Regions from separate parts of the Homo sapiens genome. Here all the other regions are linked to region 1. Evidence: promoter capture Hi-C in 16 types of primary human blood cells and fetal thymus (Javierre and others, 2016). All regions are on one chromosome and are shown on one strand. The core of a region is centred on a gene start or on the middle of the fragment in contact, and the rest is flanking DNA. Distances in the headings are between cores, read along the strand shown.

Region 1 (4,566 bases), core at 1,278-3,777:
CTGGCAAGGTCCCACTCTGTTGCCTGGGCTGGAGCACAGTGGCATGATCATAGCTCACTGCAGTCTCAACCTCCCTGGCTCAAGCCATCCTCCCACTTCAGCCTCCCAAGTAGCTGTGAGTACAGGCTCATGCCACCATGCCCAGCTATTTTTTTTTTTTTTTTTTTTTTTGGTAGAGACGGAGTCTCACTATGTGGCCCAGGCTGGTCTCAAACTCCTAGGCTCAAGCGACCCTCCCTCTGTGGCCTCCCAAACTGCTGGGATTACAGGCAGTTTTTTATATTAATCATCCATTCACTTGCAGTGAGCCACTGCTCCCAGCCCAAGGCCTACTTCTGCAACAAGTGCTTGCACAGCATTTCCTGCCTTCTGTCCATCACTTCTACAGCCTCCATTACAGCTGTGTCATTTAACCAAACAGTGAGTAGTTACATGCTAAATCTCTAAAGAGCACACAAAGTTGGTATATCCCCTACAAAACGGTTACTTATACAATAGAACTAGGGAGAACTCATCGGTTCTTATGACGTAGATGTCAGACTTACCTTGGAATTAAGCTGATAGATTTGACTAGATATATTTTGAGGCAGACCAATTGCACTCCCTTTTAACTCTATAATATCTTCTTTGTTTTTCTGGATCTAATTTTAGAAAAAGAAGAAGAAATGAAGAGCACTAGTGAAAATATCATATTTATCTTTACAGTAACATAATTAAAAACTTGAGTAGTATTCTACTTTAAGCACTAAGATCTTGCCTATTATTATAAAAACCAAAACAACACCATGCGTAATAAACACTGGGCTAAAATAGCCACAGCATAATTCCACTTATCCTTTTCAGTAACAATAGATCAAGGTATTTTCCATTTGTATGTTTTCCTATAATACCAGTTTAGGGTGCTTATTAAGAAACCTGGCTTGGAAGCAGACTGTTTAGGTTTTAAGTCCTGGCTCAGCTATTTATTGCTGTCCTGGGCAAGTTACCTAACTGCTTCAGGGTTTCTTTACCTCTTGTAAAACTAGGGTGACAATAAAGGCCACCTCATAGGACAGCTGTGAAGGTCAAATGAGATAACATCCATACGGTGCTAAGCACAGTGGATGGCCCACAGTAAGCTCTGAATAATGCTGACTTCTAACATTATGACTGAAATATGCAGTGATTATTGGGAAATGAAAACACCCAGTAAGGCAGGAGAATAACTGGCCAATTCTGTTCTGTGGCAAAAGCAAACTGGTCACATGTCCACATATCCTTGGTCCCCTACTTCCTCGCATCCCCTGTGGAGGAGTTTCAGTTCCACCCTCCGTGCCTTCTCTGGACTAGGGTGCATTGTCTGGCACAATGAGCTTCTATCTTTTAGCATACTCCCTCTACCCACTATTAACCCCAGGCCATCGTCCTTTACAAGAACATGTCTGATGCCCAATTATGTTCTCTATGCTAAAGATTCAAGGTACACTAGGAAGGGGGAGGGAGGCTGAAGACAGGTTGATTAATGAATACAATATATAGTTAGATAGAAGAAATAAGACCTAGTGTTTGATAGACCAGTAGGGTGACTATAGTTAACATTAATCTATTGTACATTTCAAAATAACTAGAAGAGAACAATTCATATGTTCTTAGCATGAAGAAAAGGTAAATATTTAAGGTGATGGATATCCCAATTACCCTGATTTGAACTTTACACATTATAGGAATGTATCAAATTATGTATTAATAAAAAATAATAATTAAAAAAGATTCAAGGTACAGATTAATCTAGACTTGTTCAATTAAGTCACCGTATATGGATATACAAAATGACTTCAATATATTTCCAGTGTATTACCTGATGTAAACACTCACTGAGATCTTCATCATTTAATTTAATTTTTCCCAGGGATCCGGTTCTAAACTCAATGTTTTGAGCAGACCCCGTAAGAAACACCAAATTTCCTCTCTCTGTAGCCATTCGAGGCCTATATAATTCAAACGAGAGAATGCATCAGTAATTAGCAAGTACAATTTTTAAACCAAAATAACAAAGTTTCTTACTGAATAACTACAGGCCAAATACATCTTCACTTTTTGATCATCTCAACCCAACTGCCCCTGCTCATCTGCCACTTTTTTCTCTGCACATTTCTCAGAGATACCTCCTGGCAATTGCAAACAGATTATTTGCAAAATGACAGATAATAATTTGTGCATAGGAAAGTAATTTCATACCTCAGTCTAAATGTTTTTCCCTGTTTGCTTCTCAACATAATTTTCCTCAAGAAAAATTGCACCTTTGTTTATCTGGCTATTTGGGAAAACTGGTGAGGAATTAGCCTAGTCCCTGAGCAGGAATGACCCATGTGTTTACTTACTGTTGGAGATTGATGCTTCTTTTTTGTCTCTGCAGCTCAAGTTCTCCAGCTTCGCCATTTACTTCAGCAAATATTAATAAGGTAAGCAAACTCCAAAGAAAAGGTAAAGACATGTTCATCATCAACCTCCCAGGTTGGCAGGTAAGAGTGAGGCCACTCCAACCAACTGAGCATGGGATTTTGGAGAACAGCAAACCAGGCAGGTGTACTTTGAACCATGGAATATCCTGTAACTGTTGAGTTTTTTCTTCTTTGCCCTAGAAGGCTATGTTATTTTTTCTTCCAGAGGGATGTAAATGATCTTAGATCTTCAGTACTCTTCAACTTGTGAGAGGTCAAAATCTACCTTAAGTGATGCGCAACTTAATCATTATCTATTTGACCTTTGAAACAGTAACAAGCAGCTTTGAAAACATCCACTTAAACAATCTTTGCTTAAGAAGTAACTAGGTTTCAACAAAAGTAAACTGGTCATTATCTACACCTTTCTCTGTTCCCCTCCTTCCTCACCTCCCTTGCAGAGGAGTTCCACCTTTACCCAGCGCTAGGAAAACTAGATATCCACATGCAAAAGAAGTTGGAGGCTTACCTCATACCATATGCAAAAATTAACTCAAAAAAGTTCAAAGATCTAAATCTAAGAGCTAAAACTATAAAATTAACTCACAATGGTTCAAAAAATCTGAAACTATAACATAAAACTCAGAAGAATAGGACAAAAATTCATGACCTTGGATTTTGGATTTGGCAATGATTTCTTGAGTATGATACCAAAAGCATGGGCAAAAAAAGAAAAACACACAGACAACCAAAAGATATAAATTGGAATACATCAAAATTAAAAACGTTTGTGCATCAAAAAATACATCAACAGAGTGAAAAAGCAACTCCCAGAATGGAAGAAAATATTTGCAAATCATATATATATGAAAATGGGTTAATATCCAGAATGTACAAAGAATTTGTACTTTTTACTTTTTATCATCCCTGTGGGACCTATGGACGGCTGTGGAATCCATTCCCACTTTCCACACTGCGCTATACACCCTTCCAGCTGGATATATGGTTTGAGGACATGGAGCACTGATGTCCCCACTCACTCTGTGCTGGGACTACAGAAACCACTGAGAGTGATGAAAATATTCTACATTTCGATTGTAAAATCAACTATTGATGCACTCAGACTTTCCATGAGCACACAGACAAAACTGAATTTGAGGGAGAGCTGTAAAAATTTCACTTCTAAGAAAAATCTCTAGGTAATTACCATTGCATTGGTTAATACCCATGCAGGCTCTTTCAGGACAAGCCTGTTTGTGTTTTACTTATTTTGTGTCTTACTTATGTAGGCTCTTTGAGGAGAGGATCATTATGTACCATAGCTTATAATTCTTTACTTATGCCGGGCGCGGTGGCTCACGCCTGTAATCCCAGCACTTTGGGAGGCCGAGGCGGGCGGATCACGAGGTCAGGAGATCGAGAACATCCTGGCTAACGTGGTGAAACCCCGTCTCTACTACAAATACAAAAAATTAGCCGGGCTTAGTGGCGGGCGCCTGTAGTCCCAGCTACTCGGGAGGCTGAGGCAGGAGAATGGCGTGAACCCGGGAGGCGGAGCTTGCAGTGAGCTGAGATCATGCCACTGCACTCCAGCCTGGGGGACAGAGCGAGATGCCGTCTCAAAAACAAAACAAAACAAAAAAAAACTTTACTTGTGATACTCAAATAGTCACTGCTTTTAAAAATTTTTTTTAAACCTTCCCAATTTCTTCTATATGTCTCTTGTATCTGCTTCTTTCACTCAACATAATGCTTTTGTAATTCATCTGTGCTGTAGTGTATATCATTAATTGGTTCCCTTTTATTATTGAGTAGTATTTCATCATATGGCTATCCCACAGTTTGCTTCTCTACTCATCAGTTGATAAACACTTGAGTTATTTCCAGTTTGGGACTATTATAAATAAAGCTGTTATGAACATTTGTGAACAGGTCTTTGTGTCAACATAGGTATCTCATTACAATTTTAATTTATATTTCCCTAATGACCAAAGATGTTGGGCATCTTTTTATGTATATTTGCCATTTGTTTATCTTCTTCGGTGAACTGTCTGTTTAGATATTTTGCCTATTTTTTAAAATTTTGTTGTTTGTCTTTTATTGATTGTAAGAGCTCATATATTCTAGATACAAGAATTTTCAAATA
Region 2 (4,566 bases), core at 1,414-3,913, 200 kb before region 1:
TGAGGACGGTGGCTTACTCCAGTAATCCTAGCACTTTGGGAAGCCAAGGCAGGTGGCTCACCTGAGCTCAGGAATTCAAGACCAGCCTGGGCAACATGGTGAAATCCCATGTTTACCAAAAGTACAAAAATTAGCTGGGCATGATGGTGCATGCCTATAATCCCAGCTACTAGGGAGGCTGGGTCAGGAAATCACTTGAGCCTGGGAGGCAGAGGTTGCAGTAGGCTGAGATCATGCCGCTGTACTCTAGCCTGGGCGACAGAGAGACCCTGTCTCAAGAAAGAAAAAAAAGACTGAGTCTATTATAAACAAAAACAAAAGAGTAGAGTTATGTAGGATGGGTAGGATGGGCTGACGTCTACTCACTAGACTCAGGACACTGCTACTCTTGAAATGCTTTGGTACCAGGTGAAAACTGCCCATTCATGACTCAGCTGCAAAGCTCAGCATCAAGAGATGGAGGGATGAGAAGGTCCCAGCTTAGAAAGCAATGGCGCGGGTGCCCACAGAGCTGCATTAAAGCTCCCTCCTTGTGCCAGAGCTCTGGGAAGTGACCAAAGCTCCTTCCCTGGTGTTCTGGACCTTACTCAAGCTATTTGCTTATTTTTGTGTGTCAGTTGGTGAAGACTCTTATTCATCTCTTTTACCAAAATAAAGAAACCATGTTGACTTTAAATCTCATACAATGTGCAATAAAACATATGATTTCATTTACATATATATATATATGAATCTGGGATTCAAGTCATAGGATCATTTTGAAATCTATATTATCTAACTTCTGGTGGGACAAAGGAAAAATTTATTATTATATTACTTTCTACTGACATTACTCCCTTTTTTTGAAGTGATGCCTATTTATTTATTTATTTATTCAATTAAACATTACTAAAAAGCAAATGTCATCAAAATCAAATCATTACAGTAGAATTAAATGCAATTATAATCAAGTGTAATTAAGTACAAGCAATTACAGATATCATGTAATATATAATTAAATCAGTAATAATAGAATCAAAAAATTATGTGTTCTTTTGAAAACAGCATACAAATTATTACAAAATAAGGCAAATGTAAGTCTTATAATGTTTCTGTAACTAGAATTAACTTACAATTAGACATCTTATAATGGAAAGGTCTAAGGAATTCCAGGGATCAAGAAGAATAGTTTATTTTATACTCATGGAAAATTTCACTTTGGTCACTAATTAGGTATGTGGCCTTGGAAAAGTCCAAGCCTCATTTTATTTATCTTTAAAATGGAAATAATGATACTTTACTTGAAAAGTAGTCACGATGAGATATTGAATGTATCAAATATAATAAGTACTTGAGAGTAGGCATTCTTATTAATTCTATTACTGTTGGTTCAGAAAAGAAAATTTTATATCAAAGAAGATCAAGCAATTGCAGGAAAAGCAGATATAATTCTCAGTGAAAATACTTACCTAAACTCTTTGCCTCATATTTGATTTTAAATCCTTGCCCTTCATTACTGTGATCAGAAATAAACTGAACAAACATTTGATTATCCGAGGTGAACAGAGTTGATGAAGCATGACTGCCACAAAAATGACCATTTCCTCCAGGGGGTCCCAAGGGTGGAGAACAGATATCAGGACCATTTCTTAGCTGGAAAGACAAATTAAAATTTCATCAACTCCTTTACATTGCAAAAGAAGGAGTACGCAATTCTTATCCATTTATGTCCCAGGAGAGAAAAATTATCATTTTGTTTTCTGAATGAAGTCTATGGAAAATGTAATTAGAAAGGGTAGCAGCAAGACCTACCACCAAGTAATCCCCCTGGTTGCAAGAAGAATCTCCATTTGGAATCTGGAAAGGCTGTTCAAAATGGACAGCAATGGTCAGGCCACTTTGGACCAGGACGTGCCAAGAACAGTTGAGGTTGGATGGGTAAGTCTCTGGATACTTGGGGGACGTGATGATCCCTCTGTCTGCATGCAAATATCCACCGCAGCCTTCCCACAAAGAAACAAAGGTCGGTTATTTAAATAGCATTGGCAACTGGATTTTTATGCTTTCTTAGTTTTCTTGGGGGGTTTTCAAAGTGGAGGCAATAAAAATGCTTGAAAATAAAGCCAGAGTGCAGGAAATGATTATCATAACAAGCATGTATTGAGCACATGCTATTGGCTACTCAGTTTGTGGTGGTCATTGAGATCTGGGATACAGAGGTAAGTAAACAAGACAAATTACCTGCTTTCATAAAGATTTCTTTATAGATGGGGAAGACATACAATAAACAAATACATGATATGTGAGATGGTGATAAATTCTATAAAGAAAAATGGATGAGAGGAGGGAGAAGGGTACTTTATTGTTAGAGTTAAGTTAGAAAAGCCACGTCATTGGAGTAACATCTTAGCAGAGACATGAATGAAATGAAGGATCAAGCCAGATAGTTATGGGGGAGAAAACATTCCAGTTCAGAAAACAGTGTAAAGGCTTGATGTGTTAGAGGTACATCATGGAAGTCAGAATGGATGAGGCAGAATGAGAGATTCCAAAGGTAGCATGGCTAGGTCATGCAGGAAACTGAAAAGACTTATTCTGAATAAGAAGAGGAAGATGTTGAAGGGTTTTGGGCATCAGAATGGCATGATCTCACTTAAGTTTGAAAATGTCACTCTATGTGCAGTCCTTAGACTGTAAGGGGTGGAGGACAGGGAAGGACAGGAGCAGAGTGTCCAATAAGGAGGGGACCGCCTGAGGCCAAGGAGAGATGATAGGTGCACGGGCTAGGCTGGTAGCAACAGAAATGGAGAGGCGTGGTTGGAATCTAGATACATTGTGAGGGTAGAGCCAGTGTGATTTGTTGATGGTTAAGTGTGAGACAAACAGAAAAGTCAAAAATAACATCAAGATTTTGACTTAAATAATGAGAAAAATGTACTTTCCATTTGCTGAGATTATGAGGAGTGTAGAATTGGGGGGTGGTGGCATGGAAAAGGGTGGGAATAAAGTGTTCAACTTTCAAAGGTGAAATTTTTTTTTCTATCTATCTATCTATCTATCTATCTATCTATCTAGTCTAATTGGGATACAAGTGGTTTTTCGTTACATGGATGAATTGCATACTGGTGAAGTCTATATTTTAGTGCACTGGTTCCCTGACTAGTATACATTACACCTAATATGTAGTTTTTTATCCCTCATACCCCACCCATCCTCCCCACTTCTGAGTCTCCAAAGTCCATTATACCACTCACAGGTTAAATTTGAAATACATTCTAGACCGGGAGCTGCCAAGTATGTATATATACATAGACACACACACATATTTATATATATTATATACATATATAAACACACATATTAATTCCAATGGTTCCACCCTTACTATATACATACATGTGTATACATGTATGTATGTATAATGAGTTGCGATACATAGTAATATATACATGAGAGTGAGAGGGCAGGAGATAAAGGAAGAGGATAAAAGGAGGAGGCATTAATTCTCCAGTTGTCAGGGACCAGAAGCTCATCAGTAAGGGCAGACATCTCACACAGCTAGTTAAATTGTAGAGGTGAAAATGTATCTTAGGTCTAGTTCCAAAGCCCATGCTCTTAAGCCACTATGCAGCCTGCCTCCCTTGAGCGTGAGGAACACAACTTATCTTCAGTTGCTCCCTACTTTATAAAAGGTATATATAAGCATGGAGGAAATATTAGATTAATTTTTAATGTTAGATTGAGAATCTACTTTAAAATTATGTTTTTTGATCAAAACATGAGAGTCTTTCACTCTTCCTTGGACTACTTTATCACCTTTCAGTTAGTTTGGATTTAAGGCTGTTACTGGACTTCACATGTCAAGTTTGAAAAGTCTCAATCATACTGTGCATGATGGTATCCCATATATGGTGCCCGCTTTTGACTCATCAAATTCATATTTCAAGAGCAACAAACTCTTCCTGCCAACCCTCAGATGGCTGACTTCAACCAAGTAATTTATGAGAATAAATGATGACGTTTTGCTCCTTCGATGAGTTATGGATATGAGCTGTGCTCTATCTAGTTCCAGCCCTCAGCTAGGCTGAAAAATTGCTTTAAAGCTCTCTCTCATGCATTCCCTGGACACACCTCCTTTGGAGCGAAGATGCCACACCAGAGACCTGAAGGCAGCACACTTTTGTACGACTTGGCCCCAGTGCTTTGGATGAGGACTCAGCACTGATGTAAGGGGAGCCAGCCATCCAGAGCCTGGGCAGAGACCCATGTCCTCTGACTTGTCTTGTGTCCTGGTGCCCAAAAACATTATATTAGGAAGAGAGAAAGAGAGAGGAAAAGAGAGGAGATGAGATAACATGGGATTAAAAAATATTTGAACTCATTACTCTTGTGAAAGGATGCATTGAAGCCTGCCCTGGTTACACTGGAGTCCGAGGTGAAGCGGATGAACATGTACTCTCCAGTAGACCGGATGGGCCCAGGGATCTCTCTGCCACAGAGAACTGCTAGCTGCTGGGCCAAGTTATTATCTCCTACGTTGAAAGAAAGGGAACAACATGAAAATACATCTTGAGAATCTACTCTACA
Region 3 (4,566 bases), core at 1,021-3,520, 140 kb before region 1:
CATTTATCCCAACAGAATAAGAAGGGATGACATGGATGATACTAAGAAAATACTTCAAACACTTTAAATACAGATGCCAAAATTTATTTTAAAAATAATTAAAAGGAAACGCAAATGAAATCACGTTTTCACAAAGCCATGGAATGCTGCTTCTTCACTGTCCTCTAAAAATATAGCATACTGGAAGAATAACATGTTTCCTTCCAAGAATTGTGATAATCTAGTAGTGCATGCATTTAAAAATAATTTAATATCTACCCTTTAAAAATTTAATATTCGGATATAGTACAGTTACTTAGGTTTTTTAAAATTCCTTTGATGTTATCAAATACCTGTTAGTTCAATGTCTTCTCTATGACCCACCATTTCTTGGATTTATGATAATATAAGCCAATAATAGAAAACTTTGGCACTATTTTCTAATAATGGAGAATCATTCAGGGGTAATCTAAACACTAAATGTGTGTGTCTGTGTGTGTGTGTGTGTTTATTTAAATTCCTACATAATTAACTTTAGGGGAGAGCTCTTATATAGATACCTTGGTTATGATAGAGTTGAAGAAGTGTGGCCATAAGGTAGTCTGGAATCACATATGTGCTTTGACGTTTTCTAGCTGTGGAACTTTGGGCAAGACACTAACCTTTCTAAGCTTCAGTGTCCACACTGGTAAGATGAGGATATGAAGCGGACTTCCCTCACAGGGTGGTTGTAAGGACTAGAGATAATCCTCATAAAATAGTTAGAAAAGTGCCTAGTACACAGTAAGCATTCTGCAAATGTGGCTATCTCTAGTAGTTGCATATGCTAACATCTGTTACACTATTTTGTGCCATAGATTTTTGCTATAGTTTAAAAATATACAATAGGCAATTTATTTAGACTGCCTAAAATCTTGGGCAGAAAGTCACCATAGAACACACAGTAATTCCTTGGGATTCACAAATTTAATGTTTGCAAGTTTGATATTTGCCAAGAATCTAAAGGTCTGTACTATGGCATGAGGTATGGAGGCTGGTTAAGAGGTACGAGCCCTTGGAGAGTGGGTCTGGCCTATCACCCTAGTTCTGCTCTCACCATGGACTTACACACTTACATTCTTGCTTTCACATATGTGGTGACCCTTAGGAAGTTAAACTTTATCACGTATTTTAGGGAAGGGTATATGTCAGGTCTCAGTAGGCTGCCCTTTGGGATGTCACTAAGTTATAAGTGTGTAGCCTTCATACGTTTTCCCAAGCATTTCATGAAATTTAACGAGGGCTCGGCTTAAGTACTTTAGGAAACCTCCTTTTCTCACTCACCTCCAGTGACTGCTTGCCATGACGCATTGAAGCCTCTCCCATTTATGGACAAGTCGGTCTTGAATCGAATTGCTAGCTCATTTCCAGTGCTGGAGACCTGCATGGGGTTCTCAGGTGATCTCTGGGTACACAGTTGGGCTATTCTGGGAGAGTGGAAATCGGGGCCTCCATAGATCTAACATGGGATGTAGGAAAAAAGACTTTAAAAAATATTTTAAGCAATTACAGGCCCTTGCTCTGGCTCATTTTGACCCCCGGCTCCTTGGGTTCTATGATTATTAGAGATTGAAATCTCAGCCTCCCTGGGTGGGGATGCACTATAAACTTGAGCTGAGTTTTCAAAGGCACTCCCTGTGCCTTAGGAACACACAAGTTCAATCACCCATAAAATGCCTGCTTGTTTCATCAGCCAGAATTGCAGAGGAGGACGGAGTAGATTATTCCAGAATCTTCCCTATCTCCTCTTTTTGTCTTTTTCATGTCTTTGTGGGCTTTCCTGCTTTCTCTAGCAGAAACATTACAGATCATACAATATTAAGTCGATTTTCTGAATTTTAGGGGGACCTTTAAAAAAAGAAATGTCTGATTTTCTAACTCTGGCACATATGATTAGTCTTAGCATAAAGCCATTTTGTTATGAAAGTTGAGTTCACTGAAGGCTACCAATATCCCAGTTATATTTTTAGGAATTTCCACCTACCCTGCAAACTGAATGTTTTCTAAGACCACACATTGAATATAACACGTATGCTTCTTTAGGAGGAGTGGAAATACCAGCTCTCTGGGTGTGTTTTGGAGCCTAAGGAAGGGGATGCTATGCACCCTCCCTGTGCCTGCTCCCAGCACGCCCATGCCCAGGAACCTGACTAAGTGCATCCCACTTTTCTGCTCAGGGATTGCCCTAGACTCTGCCTTAGTCTCCAGATGGCTCCTTCTGATATAGACAGCAGACAGGGAAACACTGGGTAGAAGAGGGAGGTTCCCTGGCAAAGGCCCCATCCCCAAGCCTGGAAACCCACGGCCCTAAACGGGAACAGGCATTCTTGTTTCCACACCCAGATGTTGCCTTTTGGCCTGCCACGTCCCCATCTCCTGTACCCATATAAACCTCCAACTCCAGGCTCCACGAGCAGATGGGCAGATGAATAGAAGAGCAGAGGAGGAGAAGAACAACGTGGCAGAGAAGGAGAGAGAAGGAGCATCTGAACGTTGAGAGGAGTTTGGCCGGGGATGGTCAGACAGTTGATCATCCACAGCACAGCGAAACTCTATGGGGAAGATCATCTTCACACTCCATCCCCTTTCCAGTTCCCCATCCATTCCAATGACAGCTACCTCCATCGCCCAATAAAATCCCCACATTCACCATCCTTCAAGTCCGTGTGTGACCTGATTCTTCCTGGATGCCAGACAGGAAGTCGGGTACCAAGAGTCACTGAGCTGGTTAACACTTGAGCCCTCTGTGGATGGCAGAGCTAAAAGAATACTGTAGCCTGCCCATGAGGGCTTTGAGAGTCACAGGCACCCACCACTAGACCGTACTGTGGGTAGCATCTTGCCTGGGTTCCTGCACCTGCCAATCTGCATGCTCCCCCTCCCATAAGGGGTTTGAGGGCACCACAGCCGAACAGATGTGCCACACCCCTGTCACAGGTCCTGCGACGGGGTGGTCAGGGAACTCTCTTGTTTCACTTCTAGATCTATCACACATGACTTCAGACCACGTAGGCTCCTCCAAATCTCCCAAACTGTCTGTCTGACTGGAATCCAATACCCCAGTGACATAGTCCTCTGGAAAGAGTCTCCTTGGGCTCACGGAGGGCATCTTGCAGGCAAGGATAGCCTAGGCCAGGCCTCCAGGAGGCCTCACAGACAGGTTTCTCAGTCTCCTCTGGGTCCTGTTTATCTCCTGTGTGTATGTGTGGGGCTGGGGAGGGTGGCGAAGGCAGGATGGGAATCAAATAGAAGATGCTGACTCCTCATCTTCAGGTCTTTTCAAACTTCGATTTGTAAAAGAAAGACCATCTTTGGGAGACAGTTTTCAAAGAGTTGGTATCTGAGACCTTCATAACTGCAACTGCAGCCATCCATGTACAGGCACTCAGGACCAGAGCCAGGAAGGCGGCTCTCAGGGGGATCTGGGCACAGCGCCCTCCCACCCTCCCTCTGTGCCTTTCCCCCACCTCGGGACACTCTGCCCCCATTCCTCAGCACCCCCGGCCCTTGCCCACCCTCAGGACCCACTGCTGACTGATAGGAAAATCACTCAAGTGTTCTCTGGGGAGAGGGAGTGAGAACAAGAAGCCTACTTTGGGGAGGAGTGTGTGATTTGAATCTATAATGATTTCTTTGTCTGATTAATTCCCCCCAGCCATCCGGTAAAGGCCAAAATGAATGAAACGGCTGTTACACAGAGGGCTGAGCACAAGGACAGTAATTGCAAAGGAATGAAGCATACCGACTGCTTCAGGCTTATTTTTATTAGGAGGAGCTGATGTTTGTGCACTCCCCCCAAGTCCCATCAAAAGCAGGGCTTTAGGAAGAGCCCTGTGTGGCCCCTGACACGTACACATATGCAAATGGCAGAAGCAAGCTTGCATGGTGTGTAGAGCCAGCTTTCTTTCCCATTTTCAAGATCTCCCTACCCCCTCGCCTAGGGCACAGTCCCCACAGCATGAAACTGACAGCATGTGCTCCCAATCACCCAAGCCCAATCAACAGCACATATTTGGAAAGACCACTGAACGCCAAGTGTTAAGTTCTAACAAAGAAAACTCGCACGTCGGCAAAATATTCTTTGTTTTCTCTGCTCAAACATCCCCTTGAGATCACAAACATAATGGGTATGAGTTGGCTGGACCCAGAAGCCTCTAGAAGAATAAACACTGCCACTTTGGACATTATTTACTTCCCTTCTTGCAAGGCTGAGCTCACAAAAGCCTATCGCAGAGAGGCCAGACTGAGGTAACTGTCCACACCAAGCAATTGTCCTGGTTTACTGCTCCAAGGAGTGGATTTCCTTTTCTGCCTAATGCCAGTTCAGAATCTCTCTAAAGACTTTCTCAGAGATTAAAGTAAAATCAGGCAGAGTGTTTCCATGACCGAAACAATGGTCCTTCTGGCTTCCACAAATAAAACCGATAGTACATGACTCTTCAAAAGAAGAAAAAGATGGAAAGAATTTCAGGGCATGGTTCATTCAACTACAGCATATGACTAAACTTTGGGGGAAAAAGAAGTGGTCTGATGATCAGAGATTTAAAA

Evidence for each region. The method cuts DNA at HindIII sites, captures the fragments that hold promoters and counts their contacts. A CHiCAGO score of 5 or more calls a contact.
Region 2: a contact is called between a fragment that was not itself captured here and the fragment with the promoter of CUBN in region 1, in 5 of 17 cell types (activated CD4 T cells, naive CD8 T cells, M0 macrophages and 2 more). The highest score is 11.5, in activated CD4 T cells.
Region 3: a fragment that was not itself captured here is called in contact with the fragment with the promoter of CUBN in region 1 in 3 of 17 cell types (activated CD4 T cells, M1 macrophages and total CD8 T cells); the score reaches 9.0 in activated CD4 T cells.

Annotation. Positions count from the first base shown.
Region 1 is chr10:17,127,284-17,131,849 of GRCh38, forward strand. CUBN (cubilin) reads right to left here and starts at 2,528. Exons shown (of 67, transcript NM_001081.4): 1 at 2,361-2,528; 2 at 1,838-1,967; 3 at 546-641. The coding sequence starts at 2,482. The HindIII fragment of the contact is 5,551 bases long and covers 1-4,566 here.
Region 2 is chr10:16,923,793-16,928,358 of GRCh38, forward strand. CUBN (cubilin) reads right to left here. Exons shown (of 67, transcript NM_001081.4): 41 at 4,365-4,511; 42 at 1,792-1,982; 43 at 1,449-1,632. Among named protein-coding and RNA genes, the nearest start is that of RSU1, 110 kb to the left of the region's middle. The HindIII fragment of the contact is 5,679 bases long and covers 1-4,566 here.
Region 3 is chr10:16,982,803-16,987,368 of GRCh38, forward strand. It overlaps CUBN (cubilin), which reads right to left. Exons shown (of 67, transcript NM_001081.4): 30 at 1,303-1,477. Among named protein-coding and RNA genes, the nearest start is that of CUBN, 140 kb to the right of the region's middle. RefSeq lists a silencer at 2,079-2,238. The HindIII fragment of the contact is 3,245 bases long and covers 649-3,893 here.